3 separate regions of the Homo sapiens genome follow, and all the other regions are linked to region 3. The links are contacts of gene promoters, found by promoter capture Hi-C in blood cells and fetal thymus (Javierre and others, 2016). All regions are on one chromosome and are shown on one strand. Each heading gives the region's core, a stretch centred on a gene start or on the middle of the fragment in contact. The rest is flanking DNA. Distances are from core to core; before and after follow the strand shown. Region 1 overlaps RBFOX2 (RNA binding fox-1 homolog 2). Region 2 overlaps RBFOX2 (RNA binding fox-1 homolog 2). Region 3 holds the start of RBFOX2 (RNA binding fox-1 homolog 2).

What was found. Contacts are between HindIII fragments. The CHiCAGO score rates a contact against its expected background, and 5 or more counts as called.
Region 1: a fragment that was not itself captured here is called in contact with the fragment with the promoter of RBFOX2 in region 3 in 1 of 17 cell types (endothelial precursors); the score reaches 6.6 in endothelial precursors.
Region 2: a fragment that was not itself captured here is called in contact with the fragment with the promoter of RBFOX2 in region 3 in 1 of 17 cell types (endothelial precursors); the score reaches 8.6 in endothelial precursors.

Annotation. Positions count from the first base shown.
Region 1 is chr22:35,940,282-35,943,425 of GRCh38, forward strand. All of the region lies in intron 1 of RBFOX2 (RNA binding fox-1 homolog 2), which reads right to left. Among named protein-coding and RNA genes, the nearest start is that of RBFOX2, 87 kb to the right of the region's middle. The HindIII fragment of the contact is 3,380 bases long and covers 1-3,144 here.
Region 2 is chr22:35,957,948-35,961,090 of GRCh38, forward strand. The region is part of intron 1 of RBFOX2 (RNA binding fox-1 homolog 2); the gene reads right to left. Among named protein-coding and RNA genes, the nearest start is that of RBFOX2, 69 kb to the right of the region's middle. The HindIII fragment of the contact is 651 bases long and covers 1,037-1,687 here.
Region 3 is chr22:36,026,810-36,030,202 of GRCh38, forward strand. It overlaps RBFOX2 (RNA binding fox-1 homolog 2), which reads right to left and starts at 2,015. Exons shown (of 14, transcript NM_001349999.2): 1 at 1,431-2,015. The coding sequence starts at 1,616. RefSeq lists a silencer at 2,181-2,250. The HindIII fragment of the contact is 7,441 bases long and covers 1-3,393 here.

The sequences.
Region 1 (3,144 bases), core at 322-2,821, 87 kb before region 3:
AAAATGTGTAGGAATTCAGACAGTTCTGCAAAAGAGATGTGCAAATGGCCAGTAAGTACATGAAGAGATGCTCAACATCATAAGTCATTATGCAAATCAAAACCACATTGAGATAAAACTCACACTCATCAGAATGGTTATAAACAAAATGCCAGACAACAATAAGTATTGTCAAAGACATGGAGAAATCAGAATTCTTCTACACTGCGGGTGGGAATGTAAAATGGTATAGCTGCTCTGGAAACAGTTGGATAGTCCTTCTATTAAACATAGAGTTATATGACCCAGCAATTCCACACCTGGGTATGTAACTAAGAAAACTGAAAACATATGTCCACACAAAATAATATACATGAATGTTCATAGCAGCATTATTTCATAATAACCAAACAGCAGAAAAAAACCAAAATGTCCGTCGATTGATGAATGGATAAATGAAGTATGGTACATCCATAGTGGAATATTATTCAGTAATTTTAAAAATAAAGTACAGATACAACACAGATGAATACTGAAAACACCATGCTTGAAAACAGACACAAAAGGCCACAAATTATATAATTTGATTTGTATGAAATATCAAGAATAGGCAGATTATTCATAGAGGCAGAATATAAATTAGTGGTTCCAGGGACTAGCGGGAAGAAATGAGCAGTGACTGCTAACGGCTACCAGGTTTATCTGGAGGGAGATGACAATGTTCTGGAGTTAGATTTTAGTGATGGATGCACACATCCATTATTATATTAAAAACCACTGAAACACTAAAAGCACTTCATAAATGCGAGATTTATGGTCTGTGAATTATATCTCATTAAATCTGTTATTTAAAAATAATAATAGTTATAGGCAATGTTGGCTATTTTTCATACTGATTTTTATAGGGGAGACATGCAGTTTAGATTTTAACAAAAGAACAAGGCTCTTTCCGAAATGCACAAGTGCCTTTTGTTTGTTCTGGATTCTATAAATTTACTTCCACACACCATTCTCTACAAATTTTAACAATGATGATGATAACCCCCCAGTTATTAAGCACCTAATCAGTACAGTTCCAGGATGGTGGAAAAGAGGAAGAGATAGAGGCAAAAAGAATGAGATAATATAGCAGTATACAAAAATATATTTCCTATCACTGGGGAAACTAACTGAAAGAAGGTAAGTAACTGGCCCAATAACACATAGATATTGAATGGGAAATTCAAACTGCCAACCTGTGTCTGCTGGACTACAAACCCCTGTTCTTTCCATTTTTCCAGGTTCTCATCCCTACTAATGATTCCATATTATTCCCTTACAATAAACATTTCATGATTGTCTGAGAAGGGGATTATCTGATTAAGAAAGTAATCAAAAACCCCAAAAGCATATTAACAGAAATTCATCACTCCCAGAGGACATCCCACATATGAACCATATTCCATAAAATCCTGGAGTTCAACAATGAAAAAAATATAAGGAAAAGATCACATTCGTATAAGCCAGTATTGTCAAAAACTTCAATAGAAAAGTTGGTCATAACAGGTTGCACAGAGATGTGTCAGAGGAAATGGATTTACTCCTCCACCTGCCTTAGCACTCTTCTTTATTTCCTACCTCTCAGATAAGGCTATTTGGAACTCTCAAGCCCTCCCTGTATATATCTGTCTCTTACAAATGCATTAATTTTGCGTGATTTTGAATTTTACAGGCATGGATCCTATTGCAGGTATTCTTCAGTAATTTGGCATTTTTGCTCAATACTATGTAAGATTCACCTCCACTAGGGCACATAACTGTATTTTACTATGATTGCCATTTAGTATTCTCTTATAAACTATAAACATGTCAAATAAATTACTTATCTGTCCTATTTTCCTGTTAATGGATAATTGAATTGTTTCCACTTAATGGTTTTTGTGCTCACACCATGCTGCCTACGAACATTCTTTTAGATTTGAGATACCATGTTTTACATATGAGATTAGCAAAAATGAAAACACCATGAATAGGCAAAAAGATGAGTCAATAGATACTCTCACACCTAATAGTAGGAATATAAGTATATTGGGATGCTGTTATGGAAAGTAATTTGGCAGTACTATCAAAATATTGAATGCATATACCTTCCTGTAACTTCACATCTCTATCTAGACAAAGAAGCATGTGCGAAGATTTTCAAAACAGTGTTGTTTGCCTTAGTGAAAAACTAGGAAAAAAAACCTCAGTTTCCATTAATAATAAGGTAATAGTGTTATCAATTATTGCAAAATTTCAACATCCCACCTGCAAGGTTTTTAAAATAAGGTAAAATCTTTATAAATGACCTCAGGTCATATTAAATGACAGCAGAACAGAACACTCAAGCAGAAATGGCTAGCTACACAGAAGGCTCAGGCAGGAGGATCACTCAAGCCCTGGAGTTTGAGATAGCCTGGGCAGCACAGCGACATCCCATCTCTTAAAAAAAAAAAAAAAGGTAACTAAATGCATCGAAAATATAAAGAAGGATATATAACAAACTTCTAATAGTGGTTACCTCTAGGGAGAAGAATAAGATTTGTGGAAGGTTGAAAGGACATGTTTTACCCAAATTTTACATTGTGTAAAATTCACATATGACTTAGAATAAAGCTGTTGTCAGTGTTTCTTACTGCTTTATAACTTATAAAACCAACTATATATCTCACTTAGTCCTCACAATGCATAAAACAAGTTTTATAAATGTCATTTTACAGATGACAAAACTGAATTTCAGACACTTTAAGTGATTTGCTCATAATCAAATAACTAATGACAGTGGCTGAGATGCCTCCAGACTTAGGTCTTGATTCTATACCCAATACTTCTACTACTTCATGACAACTATTAGGCTGGTGCAAAATTAAAGTAATGGTAAAAACCGCAACTATTTTGTGCCAGTCGAATAGTGGGAAAGATTTGCCTCGTCTGGTCAGAGATGATTATGATTATCTAATGATATGCAAGTCTGAGTTTTTAATCAGCATAAAAACAATAACTGGCATTTAAAGCAGAGATGAAATTACAAGAAAAGCTACTGGAACAGACAAGATGGAAATCAGATGTGTTAGAAGTCCAAAAAGAAAAGGTTTTAGTAGCGATATGTCTATAAGCAAGCATTATTGGCCTATTAAGAATGAAAGA
Region 2 (3,143 bases), core at 112-2,611, 70 kb before region 3:
TTTGGCATTTAAAAAAACAAAAGATACCTCTTAATTAGCCTCAGAGTATAAAAGAAATACATTTCAAAGGATCATTCTGCAACATTCAAAAAAGTCCCTTTAAGACAGGCTGAGTTGACTATCACAGTCTAAATTTAAATTAACAATTCTACCCCAAAAAAAGTCATTATAGACAAAATAATAAATTTTATTTTAATTGATAGACATTATTTCAATTGAGTTTTATAACAGTCTCTTCACTCACATTGCTATTGAACATGATGTTAAACCAGCTCTGGTGTTTATTAGAGGAACAACTTAGGACAAGTTACTCACCTTTCTGGGCCTCAATTTTATTTTCTGGTCTATAAAATATATGTGATCATGTCTACACCTTGCAAGGATGTTAAGTTTAGGCACAAGGTATACAAAGCACCTGAAAGTATACCTACCCCATAGAGAAAAACTATTATTGTAACAATTTTTATTATATGCTTTGAGTTCACAATCCTGCCTATCCCTAAGTCCATTAAGATCTGGGTAAAACTGGACTTTTCTATTTCCTCCTGCTGCTGTTGCTTCCAATGCCCTACTGGCTACAACTGCCAACTCTCTGACCTAGACTCTCTGCCACCTACTACTAGTGTCCTCAGAGCAAGTCCCTGAACTTCCTTTTATTGTATTAATTCCCTGGTCAGAAAGAAGATAATGCTCATTACTTACCAATTCAGTGATCTTCTGATAATTACCACGTTAATTCTTGCTTGGAACCAATCTAAAAGACTTCAAACAACTTCAAACCTACCGAGGATTTTTTTTCTTGATGCCAAGTTTTAAAAACCAGGAATTACATTTTTTTAAACAAATGGTCAACTATTAAGAATTCATAAAAGAGCTGCCTGTCATATCTCGTTATACTTTGATTCCTGTATCAACTCAATTACTCAAATCCTTTAGTTCTTCATCTTCTAGCCCTCTTAGATAATAGTCTCCATTAAGTAAAAGGCATTTTGCAGAAACAGATAGAGAAAACTATATATATATATATATTGTGTAAAGCTTAGTTTTCTGCAAGTACAATTAAATACTCAAGATAGCTGGGAGAAGGGCAAGAAGAGCCCACAGAGATGAGATGGTACTGAGACTCCACTGGTGGCCCTTTCTAAGGGACTAGAACTACACTACAGATTTATCAATGAAAGGTTGAAGGCAAGGGAAAAGGAAAAGCCAGTGACATATGCAGGCACTGCAATGCGCTAGATAATTGATATACATTATTTCTGGGTATTATTTCCATTATCAGGTGAGGAGAGTCAGACTCAGAGAGATTAAGTGACTGGATCCAGGCCAAATAGCTAGTAAACAGTAGAGCCAGAGCCATAATTATAACTGTTCTTTCTGTTACATGTTACGCAGCAGTTTAGTCCAGAAAAGCATTTACCCCTAGGCCAAGAAATAGGGAAGGTAAGTGTATGATTATCTATACACTGGTTTAGCCACACTGTTTCCCTTCCAGCAATGGGAAAAATGGAGAGATAATTCATCTTTAACCTGCGGTTATCACCCAATTATTCCCATTGGTAGAAGAAAAGCAGTGCTTCTCAAATGTTAGCATGCAGACAGGTCACTAGGTATCTTGTTAAAATGTAGATTCTGATTCAGTAGGTCTACAGTGGCGTCTGAGATTTCTGCATCTACCAGGAAATGAAGCTTCTAGTGCTGGGGCCATACTGTAAACAGATTATACTCAATAGTTCCCAATCTTGACCGATCATTTGAATCACCTGGGAATAATCTAAAAACTACAGATTTCCCTCCTTGATTCAGTAGTGTCTGGAATGAGGTCCAGGTTGACTTCAATACAGTCATCCCTTGATGTCCATGGGGGACTGTTTTGAGGACCCCTCTCAGACACCAAAATCCACAGATGCTCAAGTCCCTGATGTATAATAGCACAGTATTTACATATAACCTATGTATATCCTCCCAGAGATTTTAAATCATCTCCAGATCACTTATAATACCTAATACAGTGTAAATGCTACGTAGTTATTTAGTATTTTTATTTGTATTATTTTTATTGTTGCATTGTTATTTTTTTTCTGAATTATTTTCAATCCGTGGTTGGTTGAATGCACAGATGTGGACCCCACAGATACAATACGCCAACTGTACAGAACAGGGACTACTGAGCTATACTATCTCCAGGCACATTCTACCTCAGAATTCTGTAATTCAAAGAAATATATAATTATTACCGACAATAATCACAGCAAGCACTGACTGAGAACACACCAAATGTCTAAGAGCTTTATATATTAGCTTACTTAGTCCTCAAACCACACTGTGAGGTTGGTACTCACAGCACTATCATTCCCATTTTACACATGAGGAAGCCAACGCACCAAGAGACTAACTTGTCCAAGGTCAGTGAGTGAACTGCAGAACAGGGGTTCAGACTTGAACCAACCCGATTTCAAAGAGTCTGTGCCCTCAGACACACCATCTAAAGCTGCTTCCCACATTACCCAATGGTAATGTCACTGATTTTAACAGACACACTTGAACAAATAAATCCAAATGGGTCACCTCAGAAGATGTCGCCCTGGGAAGGCTATGTTCTTATTCCTCAGATGCTACCATCATTCAAAACACGGCCACTGCTAAACTAAACATTTAAAGAGCCCTTGATCTGAAAATGAAAATGCCTTCAGAGCCTAAACCCATGACTTTAAGTATCTTCAAATGGGGTAAAAGCTCACCATTTGAGCACAGATTTGACTTTTTGACAACACCACAAAATCACGAAGAGCCAATTCGAAGAAACCTAGTGTCTTTCAAAAACCTAGGTAGGTATTTTTTTAAATAAAAAAATTCAGTGTTAGGTATTGAAAACGTTTTCCTCATCACTCATCTCTAAAGCCGATTCCGAATGAGAGTTCCTCAGGTTTTGCGCAATGGTTGTATCACCAACCAAGGTGACTATTTTGAAGGGCAATATTCATTTGGATGCACAGGTTCTGTTATATTTGTTTAAAAAAAAAAAGCAGCCTCTTAGTCATACCAAAAGAAACACATTTGCCCTTCACTATCAGCACAAACATGCATATGTTCAGAACAACTGTCTTGAAGCATGCAGTTTTCCTTTCTGCTGAAAAAGCAAC
Region 3 (3,393 bases), core at 765-3,264:
AACAGGGTAAACTCTGCAAAGGAGACCAAGAAGCATACAACAAACATGCTAGGCTTAAGTACAGCTCTGTCCCTAACACAGGAAGTCAGGCAGAGGCTTGAAAAGCAGGGAGCAGAGCACAGGAAGTCTTTTAGCACTGCAGAGATTTCCAAGAGTGGTGTAATGGAGACAGCACAGGAATAGGAATTAGAAGACCAGGCTTCTAGTTCTAGTTTTACTATTAGCTAACTGGGTGGCCTTACCCAAGTCACCATCTTCTCTGGACTTCTGATTCCCCATCTATAAAATAAGGTGGTTAAAACAAGCTGGGACTTGAATCTCCTCCAAAAAAAACAAAGATGAAAACTATTGACTCTCCTCCACCAAAAAGTGCACATCACCTACTATGAGTAAGAATCTTCCAAGTCTTCCCAGGTTAAGAACCCCTGGAAAAGATGATGTCTAGTCCTCCTAGCATCCCTCTAACATCCTATGACTCCGAGAGAATTAGGCACAAGTCTGCACAACTGTTGGTAGGTGAGACTCATCATGTCATAGCAGTATTTTCTGGGCAAAGACCAAATCGTAAAACCTCCAAAGGTTTCAAGGTCTTCTTCAAAACTATGAAGTCAGCTGACATCAATACCTTTCCCATTCCCTACCCAAATTAACCACGTTTATCTTTCAATCCAGAATTGAGAATCCAGTCTTCTAATAGCCCTATAAAAAAATTTTTTTTATAGCCCGGGACATTAAAGAGCTATTTTGTGTCCTGGTGATGTAGAATGCAATTGGCAAAGAACAGGAGGGACATGTCTAGTGTCTCCCTTCAGACTCATTAGTATGCTCCACAAAGTAAATGAGACTGAGCACCACCGTGTCCCCATAACATTACCAAACTCCTTGTACTTCTCACACTCTGTGTGATTTAACCCACAATCTCAGCCACATCCCCTCGGGGCTCTCTCGAGGAGTTTTCTTTTCACTCCTCTCATTGAAATGCCACTTCTCTTCCCCATCCCAGCGTGTGCCCAGGGCTGCCAAAAGGTACTCCCTCTTCTCGGGAGGTTTCCCACCAGATCTCCTTTTCCTCGACTCAGTCCAGAGAAGCCAGGATTTCCCGGCTTCCACTCCACCCCAAGGCACTAAGGAAGGATTTGAAAAAATGGAATCCATCTCAACCTTGTTCGATTTCCCCCCAAAACCTATCCACTCGTCGTGCCTCCTGGCCCCTCAGGAATCAGGACCCTCTCGGGCACACCAGGTTCAGTCCTGCAACCTTCGTTCCTAGCCCGAGCTCGCCCCACCTTCCAACCAGGCCCCGAATGGCCCCCCATCCCACCTCCAACCCAGGACTCCCGGAGGCCCTCCCTCTCTCCAAGCCGGGGAGCCCGGTGTCGACCCTCACGCCCACCCCCGCAATAACTGGGCGCCCCGTCCCGCGCGGTCACCTGCATCCCGCCGCCACCGTCGGCCGCCGCCTCCTCAGTGCGCGGCCGCTTGCTCAGGCCGGGATCGGCTCCGTCTCCTCCCGCTCCGGGCACCGGCAGCTCCAGCTCCGACTCCCGCTTCATGCCCCGGGCGGCGGCGCCGGGCCCGAGCTGAGGCGGCTGATGCGGCTGGGCGCCCTCCGCCATCCGCCCGCGCCCCCCTCGCCTCCGGGAGCCGGGCGACCCGCGACAGGCCACCTCCCCCTGGGCCTCGGCCCCGACTGTCGCGACAGGCGGGCGCGCGCCTGCCCCCGCCCCCGCGTGCGTGCGTGCGTGCGCGCGAGCGGACTCCGCGCCCCTCCGCGCCTCGCGGCCGCCGCTCCTTGCCTGACCGCTTGCTCCCCGCCCGCCCGCCCGCCGGGTTGTCGGCGCGGGGCCACTGGCGGGTCGTGATGAGCACTCGCTCGCGCCCCCGCACGCACACGCGAAACCCGGCCCGGCCCGCCGCGCCGCCCCGCCTCTCGCACTCCCGGAGCTCGCCCACCGGCCGCGCTGGCTCACACTCTCCCTCACAGCACGCCGGCCGAGGGAGGAAGGGGGCGGTCCGGGCTCCCGAGGCGTGGGGAGGGCTGTTTATTTTGGGGGGAGGAGGGGCGCGAGGCAGGAACGAGCTGACTGGCCGGGATCCTCCGACCCGCCACTGTGGCAGCACCGGGAAGGCGGGGAGAGAGAAAGAGGGAGGGAGGGAGGGACCGGGATGTAGAACTCCAGCCCGCGCGGGAGGCTACGGCGAGGGGGGCGGTGGCGGCCCGCGGGGGGGGCGGGGCCAGGCCCCCTCGGCAATCTCCGTAGTCTCCTCGCTGGCTGCCCGAGGGAGGCCGGGAAGCGATCGGGGAAGCTCGGGAATCTCCGGCACGGGCCTGGGATTGTCCTGGAGGCACAGCGCGGCTGGAGTGCGGGGCAGCGCGGGGGGGGCGGGGTCTGTCTCCTTTCTGGGCGGGGCCGTATCCTGGAGCAGGCGGGGCTTGAGAGACCCGAAGGCCAGGGAGTGGCTCCTGCTTGCGGTACTAGTTGTACAGAGTTAAGTCCTGAGTTTACTCGCCTGAGCACCTTGGTTCCCGGAGAGGGAATGGGCACTCTGTGAGAGGCAGGCTATTTGCCTGCTTCCCCTCCCGCAGAAGAAAAAATGTCTCAAATTGGAAGGTCGAGGAATGAAGCCACCCCTCTATGGTTCACCCCAGTTCTGAGAGCTTTTACTCTAATATAACTCACATTCCTAATGAAGTTAGTAATAATACCCGATGTTTGTAAGAGCTTTAGAGTTTGCACAATGCATCCACAGACCCGTTTCAAACTGGTGATATAAGTAGATACCATGATCTCCATTTCATTGATGATGAAACTGAACCTTAGTTAAATCCTGCAGCAAAAAAGTGGCAGATCCGGAATTCAGAACACGAGAACATATTCTCTTTCTTCGTACCTTGCTGCCTGAGGAGCACTTTATGACTTACCAACTTCGTGGAGATAGAGATATCTGTGCAATAGATTCTCTCCCCTACCAGACTGTGAGGACAAGGACTGCAGTGACTTCCTCTGAGTTCCATATCGTGCCCTGTACGTTATAGAAATAAAAGGATATTGCGTGAATAACCTGGATTCTAATCTTGGCTTTGCTAACTAGCTTAAACAAGTTACTTCATCTCTTTGGACCTCAGCTCCATCATTTGTAAAATGAGATGGTTTGGATCAGTGGCTTTCAACCAAGGAGAAATTTTGCCATTCCACCACCTCCACTCCCACATTTGTCAGTGACTGAAGGCATTTTTTTTTTTTTTTTTTTTTTTTTTTTTGAGACAGAGTCTCGCTCTGTCGCCCAGGCTTAAGTGCAGTGGCGCGATCTCGGCTGACTGCAACCTCTGCCTCCTGGGTTCAAGCGATTCTCCTGCCTCAGCCTCCCCAGTAGCTGGGACTACAGGTGTGC